5 separate regions of the Homo sapiens genome follow, and all the other regions are linked to region 3. Evidence: promoter capture Hi-C in 16 types of primary human blood cells and fetal thymus (Javierre and others, 2016). All regions are on one chromosome and are shown on one strand. Each heading gives the region's core, a stretch centred on a gene start or on the middle of the fragment in contact. The rest is flanking DNA. Distances are from core to core; before and after follow the strand shown.

Region 1 (2,778 bases), core at 16-2,515, 330 kb before region 3:
CAGCTAGTTGGGAGACTGAGGCAGGAGGATTGTTTGAGCCTGGGCAGTTGAGGCTACAGTGAGCCTGGGGAAGTTGAAGCTACAGTGATCCAACCACTGCACCCCAGCGTTGGTGACAGAGCAAGACCTGTCAAGGAAGGAAGGGATGAAAGGAAGGAAGGAAGGAAGGAAGGAAGGAAGGAAGGAAGGAAGGAAGGAAGGAAGGAAGGAAGGAAGGGAAGGAGAAAGTAAGATAGGGAGGGTGGGAGGGAGGGAGAGAGGGAAGGAGGAAGGGAGGGAAGGGGGGAGGGAGGAAAATTCATTTAAGACTCTTAAAACAACCCTATGAGATATGTGCTATCAGCCCTGAGACCTGTATTACCAGGTTTTCTGATTTTTCAAGGCATTCTATGAGATCTCCTGATTTTTCAATGTTAAAAACTGGTTTAATTAGTCGAAATTAAATGAATGTCCCCATTTCACAGGTTTGTAAACCAAGGCAGTGAACTAACTTGTCCAAGGTCACACAGCCAGTTGGTAAAATTCAAATCCAGGCCTTCTGGCTCCACAATCCATGCTCCTACCTATCATCTCTACAGCTCTTACTTCGCTTGATGGTGACGCAGATCAGGGGTGGGAAACAAGAGGGCGTGGTGGGGACTGCGGTGCCCTGGACACAGCACACTCAGACTAAAGGAAGCAGCTGCTGTAGCCGGCTGGTTGCCTTAACAGGAATGAGGACTCCAATATTTTTAAGAAAAGCTGGACATCTGGATTTAGCATGAAATCTGATTTTTAAATGTTGGTGGCCGGGTGAGGTGGCTCACACCTGTAATCTTAACACTTTGGGAGGCAGAGGCAGGAGGATTGCTTAAGCCCAGAAGTTCGAGACCAGTCTGGGCAACATAGTGAGACCTCCTATTTTTTTTAATAAAATAAAATAAATGTTGCCAACTCACTCAAAGCTCTTAAAAACACCAAGCAGATCAAACAAAGCACCTTGTGTGGGCCGCCACTTTGCAACTCTGATATGGAAGGATGCTCCTGGATCACTGGCCTGACCTCTGGCCTCACTGGGTTCCCATCAGAGTCAAAGTTCAGCTCCTTACTCTCCAGGCATCTTTCCAAGCAGAGAGAGTGAGACAGAGGATGAGCCAAGGACCTGGGCTCAAAGTTGGGCTCTACAAGAGCTGTGTGACTTTGGACAAGTCACTCACCTGGTCTGGGCCCTCATTCTCTCATTTGTAAAGTAGAGATGACAATAATTTCTGTGTCACAGGATTGCTCGGGGCCTGGATGAAAAGGACGCAGGAGGAACAGTTTGGTGGGCTATAGAGCTCCTTGCAGATGTGTTGGGGCCACCTCGCCCAGGTAGCCTCAGCCTGTGGTCTGCCAGGAGAGGTAGAAAGGAAGTGGCCCCAACCCCACCCCACGCAGCCAGGGTCTACCTCACAGCTACTTCCCCCACCTCCCGCCTTTGCACCCACACAGCCTGGAGCCTGTGCACCCCGCATCCCTGGTGACCTCGCCACCACGCTTCCTCCCAAGAGGGAGACTGCCCGCTTTGACCAGTAGACATCGCAGGCCAGCCACTTACGCCCGTACATGACACAAACTTTTAAAATCAGAGAAATATTAAAAATATTTAAAAATGAACAACCCCTATGTACCCATAAATAATTTGATGCACAATCAACTAAGTAATTATTTCCATGCACAAAGACAGGAATTACTTGCAGTATGTTTTTATGAAACTGGAGTCAGGTGCACATTGCATCTCCTTTTGACTTGCTCATTTCTCCACGCAATTGACATATGCGACTGTGTTCGTTTCAATGGTGGCACAGAGTTTCACTGGTTTTTAAACCAGTCCCCTGTAGGTGGACGTTACTTCCGATTTTTTTTTTTTCTAACACAGGCAGAGCCCCTGAGAGCACCCCTGTGCCTGTAACTTTGGGCACTTTGGGGGATGTTCATTCTTAGAGGTGGAAACACTGAGTCAGAGAAGTGAGCGTTTTGTGTGAACTGATATTATCAAATTGCCCTCAGAGGGGCTAGACCAATTAATGCTTCCTGAGCAAGGTGTGAGGAGACCTCATGACCTCATCCCCTGCGAGCCTCCTAACATCTTCCTTTTGGTCCAGGACCTTAAGAAAACCCATTCCCAGGCCGGGCGCAGTGGCTCACACCTATAATGCCAGAACTTTGGGAGACCTAGGCCAGTGGATCACTTGAGGTCAGGAGTTCGAGACCAGCCTGGCCAACATGGTGAAACCTTGTCTCTACTGAAAATAAAAAATTAGCTGATGTGGTGTGCACGCCTGTAATCCCAGCTACTTAGAGGCTGAGGCAGGAGAATCGCTTGAACCCGGGAGGTGGAGGTCGCAGTGAGCCAAGATCACACCACTGCTCTCCAGCCTGGGCAACAGAGTGAGTGAGACGGTCTCAAAAAAAAAAAAAAAAAAGAAAGAGAGAAAAGAAAACTCGTCCCCTTTGCACCCACTGATGCATCAACTAGATGCTCAAAGTTGCCTTCCAGGTGCCCTCATCCAGAATTTGTTAAACTCATCTCCTTACCTGAAATCTACTTCCTCAGTGCACTATTCACTCATTTTGGTGGCCAATCCTGCCCTCTGAACTCACCATCCCTCCACCTCCTTTATGCTTTGCCCAGCCCCTTCCCTCCTTCTCAACCCCTGCCCGTGAAACCACCTGCACCAAGCCCGCCTCCCTACTGCCCTGGTAGCCCCACCCCCACGCTCCCCATCCTCTCCGAGGGAGAGATCCCCAGCGCAGGTG
Region 2 (2,709 bases), core at 153-2,652, 460 kb after region 3:
TCTCACTAAAATGTTAATGACTGGCTATATGGAGAAATGAATGAATGAATGAATTAATTAATTAATCCGTGAGGGAATGGGGAAGATAGCACTATGTCTTCTGCTTGTCTAGTAGGGTTGTTGGCAAGTTTAAATGGTCCTCAGAGGGGATCCTGGGATCACTCTCAGCTGCTGCACCACGCTCCCATCCCACCACCTACCCACGCTTCACTTAACCCGCCAGATCCTTCTAGAGCCTGGCCAGGCATTGTAGTGTAGTGGGAAGACAAGGAGACCTGCAACTGGACAGCCATGGCCTCAGAGCCTGACTCTGCCAATTCCTAGCTGTGTGTTCTTACACACCCTAGCTCAAGTTTCTGGGCCTCAGTTTCCTTCTCTGTGAAATGGACACAATCACTGCTCCTCCCAGAGTTGATATGAGGATTACAGGAGGAGTGTATGTAGGAACACCCAGTACAGCTCAACGAATATTTGTTCCCATCCGAAAAAGCCCCTCCCCTTGCCCATTAGCGACCCTTCTTACCTTTCAAATCTTTGATGAATGAATGGTGAGCACTGCACAGCCCATGACTGTTAGTCCGGGATCCCCAGGTGGATCATTAAAGCCTTGAAAGCAAGGGCCTGTGGGGACTATTTCCTCAGTCACCCAGAGGACCCAGCTCAGCAGAAAGCATGTATTGGGTTCAAGCGGGAAATCAAAGCATCATTATGATCATCTTGCCCTTTCCTCGAGAAACACCCTGGAGGGTCACTGTGGCAAGATGACCAGCTCCCATTTTTAAGCACCTACTATGTGCTTTGCATTTTACATTTATTTTTACATTTAAGCTTAACTATACAACAATTTGAAGGAGGTACTCTCATTATCATCATTTTTAAAACTATTAATATTTATTTTCTACTACATAATTTAATAACGTTTCAAAAATTAAAGGAACACAGTGAGAAGTCTCATCCTGCTCCTATTCTCCTCGTTTAAAGAATCATTTTTATTAGTTTCTAGTGTATTCCCCGAGAGTCTGTTTATGTAAATACCAGAACATATTCTTAAATCCCCCTTTTCTGGCTGGGCGTGGTTGCTGACATCTATAATCCCAGCACTTTGGGAGGCAGAGGCAGGAGGATCGCTTGAGCCCAGGAGTTTGAGGCCAGCCTGGGTGACACAGTGAGACCTTGTTGCTACAAAAAATTTAAAAATCAGCCAGGCATGGTGGTGCACACCTGTAATCCCAACTGTTTAGGGGTCTGAGGTGAGAGGATTGCTTGAGCCCAAGAGGTCGAGGCTACAGTGACCTATGATCATGCCACTGCACTCCAGCCTGGGCAACAGAGCAAGACCCTGCCTCAAAAAAAAAAAGTTCCCCCTTTACTTATACAAAAGGGAAACACTGTCCTACACTTTGCACTTTCCCTCTACATTTTATCTTAAAGGTCTTTCTATATCAATACATAGAGAATCTCTTGACTTTGCCCCACTGTCTGGAGGTAATTTTAGGCTGTAGGAACCAAAGCTCAGAGAGGCAAAGCTACTTGCTCAAGGTCACACAGACAGGAAGTAAAAAGAAGGACTTACTCCCAGGTCCCCAGGTCCTGCCCTTCTCTCTCTCTCTCTCTCTCTCTCTGTCTCTCTCTCTCTCTGTGTCTCTGTAGAAACAGGGTCTCATTCTGTCACCCAGGCTGGAGTGCAGTGGCATGATCATAGCTCACTATAACCTTGAACTCCTGGCTTCAAGTGATCCTCCCGCCTCAGTTTCCCCAGTAGCCAGGACTATAATAGGCATATGCCACCACACCCAGCTACTTTTTTAAAATCTTTTTTTGTGGAGACAAAGTTTTGCTGTCTCCCAGGCTGGTCTTGAACTTCTGGGCTCAAGAGATCCTCCTACGTTGGCCTCCTGAAGTGCTGGAATTATAAGCATGAGCCACGGCGCCCAGCCCTCCCCTCCTCTTTTCTTTTCACACCTAGAGAAGCTTCCCCAAGTCTCTCTGGAAAACACAGTGCACACAAGAGTACATTTTGAAAAGGGGCTGCTTCACTCATCAGCTTCCCTGGCTAAGAAAGCTGGCTCTGGGCACCTGGAAATACCTGAAGAAGCTGAAAAGACCTGGATCCCAGCATCAGCTAGGTGATCTGTAATGCTGGTCCTAGAGAGGCTGCCTGGGTTCCAGTCCAGGCCCTGCCACTGAGTGGCATATGACACTGGCCATGAGACCAAATTTCTCTGAGCCTCAGCTTCACCATCTGTAAAATGGGAATGACTGTTGTATTCGTCAGGGTTTTCCAGAGAAATAGAGCTGATAGGAGGTAATGGATAGAAATGTAGACTTATTTTAAGGAATTGGCTCATGTGGTTGTGGGGGCTGGTAAGTCCAAAATCCGTAGGGTGGCCCAGCAGGCTGGAAACTCAGAGAGGATTTCCTTACTACAGTTGAGGGAAAATTGTTCCTTCTTCGGGAAACCTTGGTGTTTGCTCTTAAGGCCTTCACCTGACTAGGTGAGGCCTACTCACATTATCAAGGGTAATATTTTTTACTTAAAGTCAACTGATTATAGATGCTAATCAGGTCTCACTCTGTCACCCAGCCTGGAGTCCAGTGGCATGATGATAGCTCACTATAGTCTCAAACTCCTGGCTTCACAGCAATATCTAGACTAGCAGTGGACCAAACCACTGGGCGCAGTAGACTAACCAAGGTGACAAAACCATC
Region 3 (2,700 bases), core at 93-2,592:
AATGAATCTAGCCCCTGCTTATTTCACTCATATCCAACTCCCTTCCCTCCTCTCATGCATTCTAAGCTCCAATCACAGAGAACAGAGGGCTTGTACGTTCTCACATGGGCCAGTCTTTTAGAAATTATGAAAGAGTGACTCGCTGCATCTTTACCAGTTCTCCTGCCAAATCCAATGCTATCACATGGCCAGCTCCCACAAATCTCTGTCCATCAATCCCACTACACCCAAATACACTAAAACACTACTCTCACTGCAGCACCTTCCCCTACAGTCTGGTTCAACAAGCCACCCTGGGCAACAACACTTGGCAAACTAGCAGCCAGAAGGTTAAATCAAAAGTATTTTTGGTGGGGCACGGTGGCTCACACTTGTAATCCCAGTGCTTTGGGAGGCTGAGGTGGGAGGATCACTTGAGGCCAGGAGTTCAGAGACCAGCCTGGGCAACATAGCAAGACCCTATCTCTACAAAACAAACAAAAAAGCAGGTTTTTGCTTGGTTGACATACTGTTTTATTAAATTTTACTATTACTATTAAATAATTAAATGCTCTAAAGCAACGCAGGCACTCTCTGGTGGCTCTGAACCCTATCTCTGGCCTAACACATCTGAAGGGTCACACTACTTTCCAGAGTCCTGAGGCATGTGAGTCTGTGACTGCTCCACGCATGACGTTCTTAGGCAACGGTGTCCGAGCGCCACTAGCGCCGGAGGGAGACGTACCTGGACCTCGTCGTCCTTGCGGATGGGCATGGAGCGGACATTGTACTTCTGCCGCAGCTCCTTGGAGAGCGGGGATGACATGATCTTCCTGCGCACGTGTGAGGGGGCATTGAAGTGACGTTTGCGGTTTTTACTGCGGTCCGAGGTAACGAAGGGATTGAACTTCATGGTGACCCTCTACAAAGGGCGGAGAGAGACGGAATGAAGGGGCGCTCAGTGGGTTACAGGGGCCTGTTCTCGACCCAAGACACTCCTCATCCCCCAACAAAGGCTCTACAGGGGAGGTAGCCTCTGAAAAGGCAACTGAGGGAGGACAGAGAGATGCGACTAGTCTGACTATCACATAAAGTGAGGCGTGTGTGGAGGTCGCATGCCCGTCTAAAGGGGTCGTGGGGGAGAGGGTAGCACTGGGACCTTGAGGCTGAGGAAGGAATGCTAGGGTTAGGCAGGAATGGGTGGTCGGGAGGTCACTCAAAGAGAGCTGTGGGGTGACATGTGTTCCCGCGACACATAGGGCAGGGTCTCACGGGGCGGTAGAGTTCACTGTCCGAGAAAACTCCAGCCTCCACTCACCCGGCTACTAGCTGCCTCAGACCCTGAGTGCGCAGGGCCGGAAGTGAGTTTCCGTGCCGCGCAAGCGCAGAAAGACATCGAAGCCCCATTTCCGTAGGAGCGAAGTCGAATGGCGCCCCCAGCGGCTTGGGGTGGGATCTCAGTGCCTCATTCCTGGCGGCCCCGGGAGGGCGATGCCAGTGAGTACAAGGGCCTGCTTGTGTAGGGCCTGCGGTAGAGGCTTACTGGTGTTCTTTTTTTTTTTTTTGAGACGGAGTCTCGCTCTGTCGCCCAGACTGGAGTGCAGTGGCGCGAGCTCGGCTCACTGCAAGCTCCGCCTCCCGGGTTCACGCCATTCTCCTGCCTCAGCCTCCCGAGTAGCTGGGACTACAGGCGCCCCCCACCACGCCCGGCTAATTTTTTGTATTTTTAGTAGAGACGGGGTTTCACCCTGTTAGCCAGGATGGTCTCGATTTCCTGACCTCGTGATCCGCCCGCCTCGGCCTTCCAAAGTGCTGGGATTACAGGCGTGAGCCGCCGCGCCCTCCTACCTCTACTTTTTTCTATCTCTGGGACTAAACGGCGGCCGGCGGCGTGCCTGCGGGTTTGTGGCCGCCGCCCCGCCCCTCTCTCCTAGACCCCGCCCCTCTCATCCAGTCCCCGCCCACTCCGGCCGCTCCGCGCCCACCTGTGGCCCTCTTGGCCCTTCTGCCCGTGCCTGGCCCCGCCGGGTCGCTCCCGAGCTCCGCGTTTCGTTCGCCGACCCCTGGAAGACTGCCTGGAGGCCCGGGCGCCACCCAACCACTGGCTAGGCCGACACTTTGCGCGGACCCTGGGTGTAAAAGGTCCCCGGGTCTCTGGTCCCGACGGAGCTGTGAGGGAGATCAACCACGCCCCCTCCGTGGGCACCGTGGCGGCAGGGAAGGAAAAGGGCTCTGGGTCTCGACTCTCTTCGGGTTAAGAACCGACGGGGTTTATTCTATGCAAGGTGTTATTAACTCCAACTCTCCCTTTCGTTCATTCATTCCATATATGTTGAACGACAACTTAGTGCCAAATGCCGGCATGCTGAAACTCAGAGAGGGAAGATGTCTTGCAAGTACAGCAGCCACACCCAGGCAGGTCCCGTGCTCTCTCTTAGTTTATCAGTGTTCCCTGACATGTAGTGGTGACATTGTTAAACACCTGCGTTTACTAATACTAGATTTTTTTTTTTTTTTTTTTTGAGATAGAGTTTCGCTCTTGTTCCCTGGGCTGCAGTGCAGTGGCACCATCTCGGCTCACCGCAACCTCCGCCTCCCAAGTTCAAGCGATTCTCCTGCCTCAGCCTCCCCAGTATCTGGGATTACAGGTATGCGCCACCACGCCCGGCTAATTTTGTATTTTTAGTAGAGACGGGGTTTCTCCATGTTGGTCAGGCTGGT
Region 4 (2,700 bases), core at 181-2,680, 320 kb after region 3:
GTATGAGGAGTCAGACAGGTCTCAGTCTTTTAAGCCCAGCTTTGCCACTGCCTAACTGTATGCAAAGTGTCTTAATCTCTTTAAAATGGTGGAGAATGGCACCTTACTTTGCAGGGTTGAGTTGCAACTGGAAAGAGAGTGTAGAGCACACAGTAGGAGCTTAGTAGATGTGAGGTCCTGTGCTGCACGTTCTGTTTAAAGGGCATTTCTCTGAATATGCTGATGCACTTTGCAAGAGCTGCCAAGAGGCTTCCGCAATCGATCATAAACAACCTTCCCTTTCTTTGGCATTTCCTTATTGTATAGTGTAGCATGCCACGTGCATGGTGGGGAACCCAATAAATGTTATCTAAATCACGGGCTGGGAGGCCACAGCATGTCAGAATAAGAATGCAGGACTTTGGAGCTAAGTTAACCTAAATTGCAATCCCAGTTCTGCCAACTAGGTGAACTGTGTGAGCTGGGACAAGCCACTTTACCTCTCTGAGCCTCGGCTTCTCAACTGTAATATGGAGATGATAATGCCTACATTGCAGGGATGTTAGAAGAATTAAATTCATCCATTCATCCCATCCAACACGTACTTACTGAACATTTACTCTGTACTAGCCACTGCTCCAGGTGCTAAACGTATAGCAGTGAATAAAACAGACAAAATCTCCCTGGGGGAGACAGACAAGAAACTGCTAACTACACATACAGCGTGTCGCATAGTGACACGTGCTAAGGAGAAACTTAAAGCTGGGTCAAAGGAGTGAGTGGGGTTGGGGCAACAGCAGGCCCCTCGTTCAAGCAGAGACCCCAAGGAAGCCTGGTGGGAGCCATGGGGAGGAGGGCAGAAGAATGTGCCGGGGAGAGGGATCAGGAAGTGCAGAAGCCTTGAGGAGAAGCATGCTTGGCGTGTAAATGAAGCCACATATGCAGGAAGCCTGGCATGGAATCCAGGTGCTCAGCAAATGCCAGCTCTCTATTTCAAGTCCCGCAGAAAGAACCCCACGCATGTGTCCTTTTCCTGAGAACGAAAGCACAAGGATTCTACAGGGCAAGACTGTGCCAAGTGTTCCTTCAGCCTAAGATTCAGGCAACATTCGAGCTCCACCACCAGTTTTTGAGCCCTTGCCAGGCACCAGTCTCTGGGATGGGCAACCAGGGATACAAGATGATCAAGACAAGGGCTCTGTCCTCAGGGAACCGCAAAGAGTCACAGAGACAGGCAGTGACAATGCAGTCATTGCAACGATGAGCAGGAAAGGACTTCAGGCATCCAGATAGCAGAGCAAAGGATGAGACTGTGGGTGGTCAGGGAAAGCTTCCTGGAGGAGGTAACGACAACTGGATTTTGAAAGGCAGACTAGACAAGAAAGGACAATCCATGCATGGGGACCATCACATGCCAAGCACAGAGGTACAAAAAACAGCACAGGGTGTGCAAGAAACTCATACTGGTAGGTCGGAAAACAATTAACGGCCCTTCATATTCTTGGCATCTGCCACCCGATGTGACTCAGGAATTCCGGTTCTGACCCCTTCCTCAAACTCAGTGCAAGCTTCAATCCCCAGAGAAGAGTCTGAATTCCCCATACTTAGACACTGCAGTGGGTAACCAACCTTAACTGCCGGCTCCCAGACTAGGGTGGCCCAGTCCACAGAGAGAGAGTTGAGAGGGATGGAGAATACATAAATCTCTAGCTATATTTAGCCTGCCTGGCGTGTGTCTGTCCCTTTACGCACCCCAGGGCTGACCCACAGGTGGCAGAATGGCTTTTTACTAGAATAGTATAAACATTTTTAAATTAAGAAACCAAGGAAAGGGGCCTGTGCCGAGGTGCCTCATCCCAGTGTCTATGTGGCGAGAATATCTGCTGCCCTATTTGCCAACATCCCCAGATATCTCCTGACCCGCGGGTGGGTTCTCCCCCAACCTGGCAATAGCCCTGTCCACAGGAGGTAGAGGCCACCCTCCAGTAAGCAGACCTGGGTTCTAATCCCACCTCTGCCACTGACTAGCTGGTGACTCTGCTGATGATTACAGCTCTCTGGGAATTTGAACGTTTGAGTGCAGTTGCTCAGAGGCTTGTAAAGTAGGAGTTGGCTCCTCTTCCATAAGCTGACCCTGGGAATCCTGGGCTCAGCACTGTCCACTTCAACCCGCTCCAGGGGAAATTATTCTTTAAGAGCATGTAATGCCTAGAAGGGAGAGCTATATGGGAGTGTTATAGCAGAGATGGGGTGATATGTCCCTCTTCCAGAACCTCACACTAAATTAACCTCACAGCTGACTTGCTTCCCCATTGAGCCGAGCCTTTGTGCTTTAGACACACACACACTCCTCTCACCTTTTGCCCAAAGGATGCTACAAAGGCCCAGCCTTAAGACAAAATACTTCTAAATACTTGGGCGTGTGAGGGGAGGGAGGGCAGAGAGACACAGGTCCCACTCCAGATTCTCCCACTACTAGCTGTGTGACCTTGGGTGAGTCATTTCACCTCTTCTGACACTCAATTTTTTTATTTGTAAAACTGGGATACACATCTTTATCGCGAAGCTTCTTTGCATACCGAGCTGGGGTATGCAAAGTGCTGGGCACTGAACCTCCACGGGCACGCGCGGGCGCGGGACCGCTGATCTGTTCCCACAATTACCATGTATTTTCCAGTAAGGCCTCCTCCTACCCCGTTAACCTGCTCCGGATCCCCTCAC
Region 5 (2,769 bases), core at 267-2,766, 290 kb before region 3:
ATATCCCAGCCACAGATACCCTAGATGTAGACTAGCAGTGCTACAACCTCAAGGTCAGAAGTATGTCACTAGACCAGAGCCAAAAATAGGTGCTATATCATTAAGAGAGTAAAAATGCAAACCACAGACAGGGTGACATTATTCACAATAAGCATATAACCCACAGGGGACTCCTATCTGAATATGCAAAGAACTCTCACTAATCAATAAGAAAAAGGCAAAAGATTTAAACAGGCACTTCACAAAAAAAGTATATTCAAAAAATCAATAAACATTTGAAAAGATCCTCAATTCACTAGTTATTAGGGAAAGGTGAAATAAAACCACAATGAGACACCCCCACGCCCCCACCAGAACGGCTTAAAATCTAAAACATGTAATACCGAATGTTTGCAAGGATGCGGAGAAACTGCCATTTTTGTACACTGCCAGTATGAGGGTAAATCTGTACAACCAGGTTGGAAAACGCTGAGTAGAATGTACTCTAGCTGGATTTGTGAATATCATATGATCCAGCAATTCTACTCCTAGAAATTTACCCAACAGAAATGTGTAAACATGTTCACCAAAAGACACACGCAAGACAATTCATAGAGGCACTCACTATTCCTAACAGTCAAAAACTGGAAACTACCCAAATGTCCATCAGCAGAGAATGGCGATAAACAGTAGCATCTTCACATAATGAAATGTTTCGACAGCAATGAAAAGTAGCTAGCTACAACTACAAACAATGTGATTGAACCTCACAAACATATACTAAGTAAAATTATCAGACACAAAGAGTGTATATACTGTATTTAGATACATGTGAAGTCTGAAAACAGGCAAAACTATTCTGTTGTTAGAAGTCAGAATAGTTACTGCCCTGCCGGGAAACAGAACTCAAGAGGGCTTAGTAGCTACTGGTAATGTTCTGCTTCCTGAACTGCATGCTAGTGAGGCAGCTGTTATTTTGTGCAGTCCTGTGTTACACTGGAGTTAAAAGTTCCCCCAAAATCAGAAAGTGTTCAGCAAGTGGAAGCAAGTACACTGCTGGACTTGGCTGGGAACTTAGGGGATCCCATAATTTGTCACAGGCACAAGCAAAGCCAGCTTTCTTGCCCTAAGTAGCATCTCCCAGAGTCAGGATCCAGGAATGGTTTGGCAGGCAGGATGCAAGGCAGGATTCGGGAGTGGCTGAGAGTTTTCCCAGTGCCACCTGGTCCCACCTCCCCTCTCCCACTTCTAATGAACGGGCAGTACAGCTTCTGTTAGGAAAAGAGCCTGGGTCCCTAGGCGATGACTGTCACATCTAGGGAGAGGGCGATGCACTGGGGTCCTCACCTACACCCCCCTTGGCTGTCTCACCACTCTGAATTATAAATGCCCGGACTTCCTCATCTCCCACCCACACATCTTGTTAGAAGAAAAGAAACGAATCTCCCAGGGCTCCTTCTAACAAAAGTGTTCATTCAGAGTAGCCCTGCTTGAGGGCCCCTGGCCTGGAGGAGTGGGAGAGGCAGCCCTCCCCCTCCAGGAGAGTCATCTCCAGGGCTACCCAGGACTGAGTAACTAGGTCACCAGAGTAACCAAAGAGGCCAGGAGACAAGGGCATTCAAGCATTGGGCCAGGAATGGGAGGGTGATGTCCAGTTCATGTTCTTCTGGTTCCAGCATAGCACACGGTGCAAATGAACCATCATGCAAGAAAACACAGCTAGTCTCCCTTCCTCCACCAGCAACCTTTGGTTACTGATAATAATCAAATTCACTATTTTTTTTTTTTTTTAACTAAGGCTGAGATAATGTCAAAGGACCACAGGGAATAGGAAGGCCTAAACCAAGGCCTTAAAGAATGAGAAGAAGATTCATTCAAAAAAGCCTCCTAAGGGAGGAAGATGTTTTTCCCTCCTTTACTTTTCTACAGTAATTTTTATTTTGGATAAATAAACCCTGATAAATGAGAACCCACGCTTTCCCAAGGCCAGGCTGTGTTTTGGTGGGTGGTCCTCCGTCAGCAGTTGGAGTAATCCAGAGTGATCCCGGGCAAGTCGGAAGGGAGCAAGTCTGTGTTGAAGCCAAGAGGTATCTTTCCCTACAGCTTCTCAAGAGAGGGGATCCCCGTGGGTAATTGTGAGGCTGGAAACACCGAGAGGCTGACTCCCATGTTTATAGAGGTCATTGATGGGTTTGTGCATGGAAGGCAGGAGGAGACTGAGAGTGCTTTGTTATTGTTATTTGGTTTATTTTTATTTTTAAAAAACTGGATACAGCCGACTTTGAATACAGAAAATGAAAAATGAGGAGATTTGCATAACAGCGCTTGGACGTCTGAAGGGGCCCAGGGCCTAGCGGCTGGTGGGGCACCTAGAAACACTTCTGCCTGCAGATCGCGGAGGGTTAGCCACAGGAAGGGGTCGCCTAGGCTGGCCACAGGGCCTTTGCTGTGACTGAAGGACCAGCCTTGGCGGCACCTTCTTTCCCCTCTGCCCTGCACTCCGGCCCCGCCGGAGTCAGAGCTGACTTGCTGCAGGTTGGGGAGAGGACAGAGGCTAGGACGGTGGCGAAACCTCACCTCGTCGCAGTCCGGAAGGTAAACTTGGACCCGGCAGGCACTTCCTAAAGTCCAAGCTGCCCTCTCTGAAGAATAAACCTGATTTTCCTCCGGACGCGGACAAAGGAGGATTCGCTCACAACTAGCCTGTAACAAAGATTCCCTATTTTCGTGGTTAGGAAAAAAAAAAAAAAGGAAGCCCTCCGGGAGAGACATGCGCCCTAATATTTCTCC

Evidence for each region. Contacts are between HindIII fragments. The CHiCAGO score rates a contact against its expected background, and 5 or more counts as called.
Region 1: a contact is called between a fragment that was not itself captured here and the fragment with the promoter of RPL26L1 in region 3, in 1 of 17 cell types (endothelial precursors). The highest score is 5.1, in endothelial precursors.
Region 2: a contact is called between a fragment that was not itself captured here and the fragment with the promoter of RPL26L1 in region 3, in 1 of 17 cell types (M2 macrophages). The highest score is 5.0, in M2 macrophages.
Region 4: a contact is called between a fragment that was not itself captured here and the fragment with the promoter of RPL26L1 in region 3, in 1 of 17 cell types (fetal thymus). The highest score is 5.7, in fetal thymus.
Region 5: a contact is called between a fragment that was not itself captured here and the fragment with the promoter of RPL26L1 in region 3, in 1 of 17 cell types (endothelial precursors). The highest score is 6.2, in endothelial precursors.

What each region holds. Positions count from the first base shown.
Region 1 is chr5:173,287,223-173,290,000 of GRCh38, reverse strand. The region is part of intron 3 of LOC105377731 (a long non-coding RNA gene); the gene reads right to left. Among named protein-coding and RNA genes, the nearest start is that of MIR12118, 15 kb to the left of the region's middle. The HindIII fragment of the contact is 5,843 bases long and covers 1-2,778 here.
Region 2 is chr5:172,498,998-172,501,706 of GRCh38, reverse strand. The region is part of intron 1 of LOC105377727 (a long non-coding RNA gene); the gene reads right to left. It also overlaps LOC107984004. Among named protein-coding and RNA genes, the nearest start is that of SH3PXD2B, 46 kb to the right of the region's middle. The HindIII fragment of the contact is 1,143 bases long and covers 831-1,973 here.
Region 3 is chr5:172,958,066-172,960,765 of GRCh38, reverse strand. It overlaps RPL26L1 (ribosomal protein L26 like 1), which reads right to left and starts at 1,342. Exons shown (of 4, transcript NM_016093.4): 1 at 1,298-1,342; 2 at 725-901. The coding sequence starts at 892. RPL26L1-AS1 (RPL26L1 antisense RNA 1) reads left to right here and starts at 1,398. Exons shown (of 4, transcript NR_026682.1): 1 at 1,398-1,476; 2 at 2,509-2,627. The HindIII fragment of the contact is 11,810 bases long and covers 1-2,700 here.
Region 4 is chr5:172,642,069-172,644,768 of GRCh38, reverse strand. The region is part of intron 1 of NEURL1B (neuralized E3 ubiquitin protein ligase 1B); the gene reads right to left. Among named protein-coding and RNA genes, the nearest start is that of NEURL1B, 2.2 kb to the right of the region's middle. The HindIII fragment of the contact is 238 bases long and covers 1,312-1,549 here.
Region 5 is chr5:173,245,978-173,248,746 of GRCh38, reverse strand. No RefSeq gene overlaps it. Among named protein-coding and RNA genes, the nearest start is that of NKX2-5, 12 kb to the right of the region's middle. The HindIII fragment of the contact is 3,226 bases long and covers 1-2,769 here.